2 separate regions of the Homo sapiens genome follow, and region 2 is linked to region 1. Evidence: promoter capture Hi-C in human tissues and cell types (Jung and others, 2019). All regions are on one chromosome and are shown on one strand. Each heading gives the region's core, a stretch centred on a gene start or on the middle of the fragment in contact. The rest is flanking DNA. Distances are from core to core; before and after follow the strand shown.

The links. The method cuts DNA at HindIII sites, captures the fragments that hold promoters and counts their contacts. A contact is called where the count stands out against the background at its distance.
Region 2: a contact is called between a fragment that was not itself captured here and the fragment with the promoter of RAB31 in region 1, in 1 of the 25 tissues and cell types used here (lymphoblastoid cells).

What each region holds. Positions count from the first base shown.
Region 1 is chr18:9,706,479-9,710,729 of GRCh38, forward strand. It overlaps RAB31 (RAB31, member RAS oncogene family), which reads left to right and starts at 1,823. Exons shown (of 7, transcript NM_006868.4): 1 at 1,823-1,966. The coding sequence starts at 1,928. It overlaps LOC124904244 (a long non-coding RNA gene), which reads right to left and starts at 1,494. Exons shown (of 2, transcript XR_007066281.1): 1 at 1-1,494. LOC105371981 (a long non-coding RNA gene) reads left to right here and starts at 2,194. Exons shown (of 2, transcript XR_935131.2): 1 at 2,194-3,515. RefSeq lists silencers at 1,518-2,087, 2,188-2,417. The HindIII fragment of the contact is 12,091 bases long and covers 1-4,251 here.
Region 2 is chr18:9,856,136-9,860,386 of GRCh38, forward strand. RAB31 (RAB31, member RAS oncogene family) reads left to right here. Exons shown (of 7, transcript NM_006868.4): 7 at 3,093-4,251. The coding sequence ends at 3,190. Among named protein-coding and RNA genes, the nearest start is that of TXNDC2, 28 kb to the right of the region's middle. The HindIII fragment of the contact is 5,057 bases long and covers 31-4,251 here.

The DNA.
Region 1 (4,251 bases), core at 573-3,072:
ACGAGACTCTTTTGGGAGAGCCTAGAAACGACGCAAGCGTCCCAGACACCCGGGCTAGTGGAGAAGAGAGCAGAATGAGAGCAGTCATGAAAAAGAGTAAGGGAACACAAGAGAAATTCGGTTTGCCTATTTCTGTCTGGGCACAGTTCTGCCCTTAGCAATCTAAGGCAACTTCACAAAGCTCCACTCACTGCACGGGATGTAGAACACAGTGGAGGCTTCCACCCTGGTTTGACTGGCTTTTGGGAATCAAGCTGGAAAGCCAAAAGGACATGTTTCACTGTGGAGGTGCCCTCAGGGCTGGCGAAGGCCTTGGGGGAGGTGTCTTTGCAACTGTGTAGGGGTGGTTTTCTGATTAGCAAATCTGAGGGCAGGGAGATATTGTGATCAGGACTGTTTGATTCTGGGGAAGCCTCTTTTTACCCTGCCCACATAGAAGACTCTGCTTTGGATACAGAGTCAAGGACGGATACTGATACAATGGACCTGTAACTTGTCCATGGCTGCCTTTTGTACAGTTTAGTCCATTTGAGTAATCTCTACAAGCCTGCACCTCGAGGGCAAACTTCCTGCTCTTCTGGGGAATTTAATTGTGAATTGTCTGTTTCGGGGCCCATTTTGACTCCTGTATTCCAGGACTTATCTCTTTGGAGGCCTTGATTTGGAATTTCCCATTGGATGGGGCTACTTGGGTACTGGGTAGCTTCAACCTGGCTTCCGTAAGAACAAAGCCAGATGATCACGGTGGGTGGTCTGCTAGGAGAATGGAAATGCCATTGATTAAAATTGGAAGGTTAAGAGAGAGGCCTGAGAGTTTGGGATAGGAGATGAAGTTTCAAAAAATCAGTTTTTAAAAAAACATTTCCCATCTGAAATGCCAGTGAATTGTTCAGATAGATTACATTGAAAAGGCTGACATTTCTGTAGCAGCAACGAATGAAGTCATCCGAGTGGATGAGGTGCTCTAGGCCATACATGGAGAAGAGAACACAGTTACCCAAGCCTCCCCGACTGTGTGCGGCCACAGACTCTGCTCATTTCCCAGTTAGGAACGATGCAGGGGTCTGCTGGGATCTCCACGTTTCTACCTGTACCTCTGAGGACTGGGTTTCTGCCCACACGAGTTGCAGGATTTGCTCTACTGAGAAAAAGACTTTTGCTCCAGAAAGCAAGTTTCCCGTTTCAGACACGGACAGCGAGTTTTGCTTCTAGAATCATTTTCAGCTGCATACAGAAAAATGAACTTGGCTGAGCTGAAGAGCCACACATATGTTAAACGGAAGCTCGGGTATTAGGAACGTCGAGAAAGGCAGGCCGAAAAGTTAGCCCCCTTCTCCTCACCCCTGTCCTCACAGCGGCCCCTTCAGTGGCCTGACTTTTTCTGCGTGGGACCCAGAATGTCGCTTGAGGATGGGACCCCCGCAGACCTCCACGCGCTGCCACGCAAACGGCCTCGGCCGAGAGCATTCGCTTTCCAGATGAGAATGGCATCTTCAGGGACCCGCTGGTAGTGGGGCCAGGTCTCCACAGGGCCGGTCCAGTCCTTCCTACCCACCCGGGCCCTGCGGCCAGGCGGGGCCGGGAGGGGCGGATGCCGGAGGGCGCTGGGGGAGGCCGACCCGCGCGGGGCTGGTCCGAGGGCGGAGGCAATCCGCCGGCGACGCCGCAGGTCCCGGGTGGCTGACGCCGTCCGGGGGCGTTCCTGGGAGCTGGGGGCCGGCGAGGCTGGACCCGACGCGCCCGGGAGGAGCCGGCCGGCGGCCACGTGACCCACCGCGGCGGGGCCGGCGGCCCAGAAATAGCAGCGGCGGCGGTTCCGCCCGCGGGCGGCGCGAGCGAGGGGCAGAGGCGAGAGACGCCGGCGGGGCGCGGGCGCGGCGGCCCCGGAGGATGCTGCTGAGCCCCGGCACTGCCTGGCTGCGAGCACATGATGGCGATACGGGAGCTCAAAGTGTGCCTTCTCGGGGTGAGTCCTGGCCGCCACCCGCCGGCGGACCCCGGCCCGCGCTCTCGCGCCCCTTCGCTCCCCTATTCCCTGCGCGCTCAGTCCCCGTGATCCCCTCGCTCTCCGCACCCCTCTCGTAGCCCCCGTCCCCCTCGTCCGCGCGCCCCCTGGTTCCCCGGGTCCCCCTGGCTCCCCTAGTCCGTGCGCCCCTCGCTCTCCGCGCCCCTCGCTCTCCGCACCCCGCCTGTTCTCCGCCTCCCCGCCGTCCGTGCGCCCCTCTGGTCCGCCCCCGCTCTCACCCTGCCGGGGTCCGGGTCCGAGCCTGCCCCGGGCTTACTCCGCTCTTTCCTCCCGGCCCGCGAGTCCCCGGATCCGCGGCGACCTCGCGGGGACCCCCAGCGGGGACGGGGCAGTGGCGGCGAGTCTGGGGCCCCGAGGGCTTTCTCCTCCGCTTTTGATAGTTTCCTTCCGGCAGAAAGTTTAAGTTGCTCAGCCAAGTCGCTGAGTGCTCTTTTGCCTCCTGGGGGCAATTGATTTACTCACGTAAAACAGAAAAATAAAACCAAAAGCGAACCCAGCCAAGGGGGTGAAAGCCGAGGGCGCGGCCGGGGTGGAAGGTGAGGCAGTGACCTGTGCGGAGCGCGCCCTGCAAACTTCCCTGCTGCGGGTGAAAGAAGCTGCCTGGGAAAGTCCTCCCCACCATCACTCCCCTAAAGTGGGGTTTTCTCCGCCCGAAGAAGCCTTAAAGCAGCCAGAAACAAAAAAGCAGTCAATCCGTGCGGCCCGGGGACTGCAGACAGGGGACCCGGCGAGGACGCAGGGAGCCGCTGGCGAACCGCCCCTGGGAATTCAGATAAACGTAGGGTCGCTTCCTTTCGGGGGCCCACTCCGCATTCCAGAATTCCTTCTTCTAAAAGAAGAGCCGGTTCTAAGGGCGTTTTCAGCAGCCATTAGCATCTGGTGTACCCGCCCGTGTCATTGGCAAAGCTGGTCTCATGAAAACCATTTCCTAAAAAAGGGCAGCGAAAGGGTCGCATTCTTGTGCGAACTGATCTGTCAAGATGGGGGTACAAGAACTGTAGAAAGAGGAAATGATTTCGGTGAGGACTGAATTGTGCCAGCGTCTCTAGGCTTCCTCTAGGCTCTTGTGGAACCTCCGGCAGGCTCCCATCATCGGCTCCCATCACCGGCCTCTTCCAAAACCATCCCTTACGCTAACTCGATTGTCCGGTTGGCTTAGAATTCCAGAGGATCTGGGAAGGCCCTGCCCTCCCTGCTAGCCCCTGGCACAGATCCGCACAGATCCCCACCTCCCCCGACTTGCTCAGCCACAGCCAGGATCTAGTCTGGTCTTTCTCTGTTGACCTTTTTGTGTGGCAGGAGTGGGTTTTCCTGTTCCCCAGGCCCTCTAATATTTCCAGACATAAATTCCAGGAATCCCATGCTTCCCTCTTGAGGGGCCATTTCAGCCTCAGGAAAGGCCTTCAGAGACTTAGAAGGAATGTCGTGTTCCAAGGAATGAAGAGGCAGCCTTGATGTGCCGTGTTTGTCAGGACTGGCCTTGGGAAAGGTGAAATAGGACATATTTTTGCCTTTTTTTCTGCAACTCTTTTCTCTTGACTTTTACTGAGGTGGTCCAAGCCCTGCCGTGTCACAGGACCCCTTATTTTCAGTTTCGGTGTTTAGGGACAGGTCTCTATGTCCTCCTACCAGGACACTGATCAGGTGGCAAGAACCCTGTGTCAAGAGGCAGGAAACCTAGGCTCTCGTTCTTTCCCACCAAAGAGCTGTGTCGTTTTAGCAAAGCAACTCAGTGGCCTCATCTATGAAATGGGCATAATAACATGTTCCCCCTTTAGGCAGAGGACTACACCAGATGATCTCTTAAGATACATGTTACCATTTCCTGCTAATCTATGAGTTCAGGGTGCCAATTAGCAAACCTGGGAGAGGAGGAAGCTGGAGGAAATCTCTTTACTTCTTTTATCTCCAAGAAAGATACACACTCTTTGAGTGGCTTCCTGCAGACAGTGCCTTACCTTTGCCAGTTCTGTGTGTAGGAATTTGAACTTGGAGTTGGAAGAACCATGCCAAAGCAGAGAAAGAAGAGGTTTCTGGGCAGACGGAGGCTTTGAAACATCAATCGTGGCCGGTCGCGTTGGCTCACACCTGTCATCCCAGCACTTTGGGAGGCTGAGGCGGGGGGATCATTTGAGGTCAGGAGTTCAAGACCAGCCTGGCCAACATGGTCAAACCCCGTCTCTATTAAAAATACAAAAAAAAGTTAGCTGGGCGGTAGCGGCGCA
Region 2 (4,251 bases), core at 1,309-3,808, 150 kb after region 1:
AATATTCTGAAGATAAAAGAACCTGGCACTCCTAAGAAGCCATGTTCAACAGCTGATTCAAGAGTGCTGCTAAGAGTTCAAAACATGCAGGAGGGGAGTCTTCTTGAGACAGAGCCAGGCCTTCCTCAATTTTGCATTCTGTGCATCAGTGCTCATTGTTGACTGGGGAGAGAAATGAGAAGCAGCAAAGAGGAAGGAGGTGGCGGAAAGCGGGGAAAGGTGTGGACAGACCTTCCTGGCATCCTACTTTGCTATCTGTACGCTCTTCCTTTCTAGATTTTCATTATACTTTTGTCACTTTAATAACTGTCTTACATATAAACTTTTTCTTTAATTTGTGTACTTTCCAAAGCAAAAAACTTATGAAAACAAGACATGAGGGAAATAAAGTCATGGAGGGCTAAAAAGCTAATGCTGTTCTGCTAACATTAGGATTAGCATAAGGACAGCACAAAGTTTTGATGTTAACATAGAATTTGATTTTGATACAGTGAAAAATGCTAAAATGTCAACTCCTTTTACTGATAAGTAAACAGCTCTTGGCTAACTAGGGCAACAGCTGTACCCATGAGAATTATAGTACTGTCCAAAAATATTTCAGGTGCAAAAGCAAAAGTCCTGATTGCAGTGTGTAACACACTCAGGAGGCTCCTGAAATATTACTAACTTCAATAATGATGTAACTCGACACTGTCACCCCTTTCTCTTCAGGAGTAAGTAACTCTTTATTGGCAAGATCTGACTTGGCTAGATCTTTAAAGAGTACTGGTAGTCATTGGAGACTTCCTTCTCTATTTATCACTTAAGGTTGACCAAGTAGAAGAGGCATTTTGTTTACTCCCTTTTAATTGTGATAAATTTAAAAGAATAGCATGTCCAGAAAAGGAAAATTCATACTTATGGTCTCCTTTCCTCCTGGATTGGGACTGAAGTTTTTGGAGATGTCCTGCAAAAGCTCTGTAGATCTCTGTTGGCTACACAAAATGGCAAAAGCCACAGCTGCAGAAATTGTTGCAAACTTTTCATTTGCTTCATCATCAAATGAAGATCTCTACTATTACTTTTGAGTTTGGAGTTAAATGCTGGTGACCTTCATCTTTATGCTGAAGCTTTGGTGACTGTCTATACCATCTGATCTACACAATGTATTATTACCTTTGAAATCAACTCTTTTTGTCCCTTGTGGAAATGCACCTCTGCTGGGGTGTTTTGGTGCTCTATATTGTCATTAGGTAACACCCACTTGCATTAAAAGACTTTGTCAGGGCCCAGCGCATAGTCAGTATTCCGTGCTATCAGTGTGTGTTCAGATTCTCCTCTTACTGGTTTTCTTAGACTGTACTGTTTTCTAAGCAAATGCCCATGTGTGATTTTTAAGATGTGCTGGGGAAAAATAAATCAATACCACAACCAAAAAAAAAAAAGACTTTGTCTTTAGAACCAATTTCCCTTCCACTTCTAATTACTGGTTCCTTAGCAAATGAATACACTAACTAGCCAATAATATAGATAGATAGATAGATAGATAGATAGATAGATAGATAGATAGATGATAGATAGATAGATAGATAGATAGATAGATAGATAGATAGATATAGATATTCATTTTAGCCTAGGCCTGGTGGCTCATACCTGTAATCTCAGCACTTTAGGAGACCAAGGTGAGAGGATCACTTGAGGCCAGGAGTTTGAGACCAGCCTGGGCAACATAGCAAGACCCTATCTCTACAAAAAAAAAAAAAAATTTATCGGGGCATGGTGGCGCACACCTATAGTCCCAGCTACTCAGAAGGTTGAGGTGGGAGGATCCCTTTAGCCCCGGAATTCGAGGTTGCAGTAAGCCATGATCAAGCCACTGCACTTCAGCCTGGGTGACAGAGTGAGACCCTGTCTCAAGAATAAAACAAAATCCTCATTTTAGAGCTAGTGTTTCATGCCTTTTTCAAGGGGCATAGAAAAGTAGCAAAGAGACCTAATGTGGTTCAGTGGGAAGAGCACAGGCCTTGCGACCCATCAGGAAGTCAAGGTGTAGATTATAATCAAAGCACCAGCTGTACTACTGCCTGTTATTGATGGGACCTTCAGCAAAGTGCTCAAGTTCTCGAGTCACAGTGAAATGGTGATAATAACGACCATTACATCAAATTCACAGGGCGAGGTGAGGATGGTGTTTGTGAAAATCTTTGAAAACTGGGAGCTACTAAGGTTATTTCCAGATTCCATTGCCTTTTTTCAGAAAACAACTTTATTGAGATAAAATTCACATACCATACATTTCACCCATTTCAAATGTACAATTCGGTGGTGTTGGTATATTCACAGATCTGTGCAGCCATCAGCACAGTCAATTTTAGAAAAATCACCTCATAAAGAAACCCATACCCTTTAGCTGTCATCTCCCTGGCCCCTTCCATTGCCTGTTTAATTTTGATTTTGTGTTTATTTATAGAGACTTTCTGATAATTTTTAAAATTAAGTTAAGTAAAAATAAGATTACTTGTGGATGACATTAAAATACTGTTTCCTATGAAAAGTGTCTCTGTAGGGCTTTCCAGTTAATGATCTAAATGCATTGGCAGGATGAGGGATGATGAGCTAAGTGTTAATAAATGACACTGCTAGGAAGATTACAATTCAAATCTATTTCTATTTTGAGAAGCAGAAAAGATGGATGAGTACTCACTGTTACTGTTGAAGTCACGGTACCATGAAAGCCGCTCATTAAACCAGGATGGGTCTCTGGGAAGGCAGGGAGAGGGAAGAGCGCGCTGATGAGCGGAGGCTGGATGGGAGCTGCCCCCAGGAGTGGATCTTCCTAGCCCAGGAATTCCACACCACCAGGAAACTGCTGGACTGTTCCTTACCTGAACTTCCTAAGCCCATGAATTGGGCTTCATGCAGCAGAACTAGGGAGGAAAGGATAGGAAGAAGGAAGGGAGGAAGGAAAGGAAGGAAGGAGAAAGGAGCCCCTCCAGGAACACCTTTATTTTGTGCACAGCCCAAAGCAGGAGTGTTGAAGCAGGGTGAAAATCTGTGTGTGCAGTGTTGGCTGTAGGAAAGGGAACTCACCCTTGGCCTCCTTTTTGTTGCAGGCCGCCAGATCCCACCCTTGGACCCCCATGAAAATGGAAACAATGGAACAATCAAAGTTGAGAAGCCAACCATGCAAGCCAGCCGCCGGTGCTGTTGACCCAAGGGCCGTGGTCCACGGTACTTGAAGAAGCCAGAGCCCACATCCTGTGCACTGCTGAAGGACCCTACGCTCGGTGGCCTGGCACCTCACTTTGAGAAGAGTGAGCACACTGGCTTTGCATCCTGGAAGACCTGCAGGGGGCGGGGCAGGAAATGTACCTGAAAAGGATTTTAGAAAACCCTGGGAAAACCCACCACACCACCACAAAATGGCCTTTAGTGTATGAAATGCACATGGAGGGGATGTAGTTGCATTTTTGCTAAAAAAAAAAAAAAACCTTTAAAAATTGTTGGATGTGTACAAAAGTCTTACTGCCTTATTATGTGTATGGGATTCTAAAGTGGCATTCCACTTGGATTTCCTGTGCTACCTATCCAAATTCCAGTAACTACTTCAGTGTCATTGCCTTTGTTACCTAACCAACCTTCACTGAAAGGCAAATTTAGTTCAGGAGGTTAGTTTTTAGCTAGCTTTGGAAGTAAGCCTTTATTTATTACTTTTTGGAGGAAATCAGAGAAGTGTCAATGGACCGTCACTCAGACTGAGACTTGAGTTATTACAGAAGCCAGGAAAAGTGTATTAGAAACTGTTGTCTACACCACTTTTAATTGGTGAACAATTTTTCTAAGTTATGGTCATATATACCCAAACAAACCAAATCAAACTAAATTACTGCATATAATTTTGGGATTGGGTGGCCTAGTTTGAAAGAGTGATTTAAGTAATCACTATGTAAGTGGTGAGAGATGCAGGACATACACATTATTCAAGAGACCACCTGACATGCATCTCCTCCGCAGGAATACATTCGTCCTCTCTTAGAGAAGTTTAACGCACATAGTATTATTTTACTAAGAGAATATCTCTTGGTGTCATATCTAGGGGAAGAGAATTAACTAGAATTAAATTTAATGTTTGAATCTAAATCATTGGGCAAACTTCTAATAATAACAATTAATAATAGGTTACAGGAAAGCCAGCCAGAGGAAGTGTCAGCACTTTAAAATTCTAGACCCCAAAAAACTACAAAATCAGAAAAAGTATTTTTATGTTTCTAG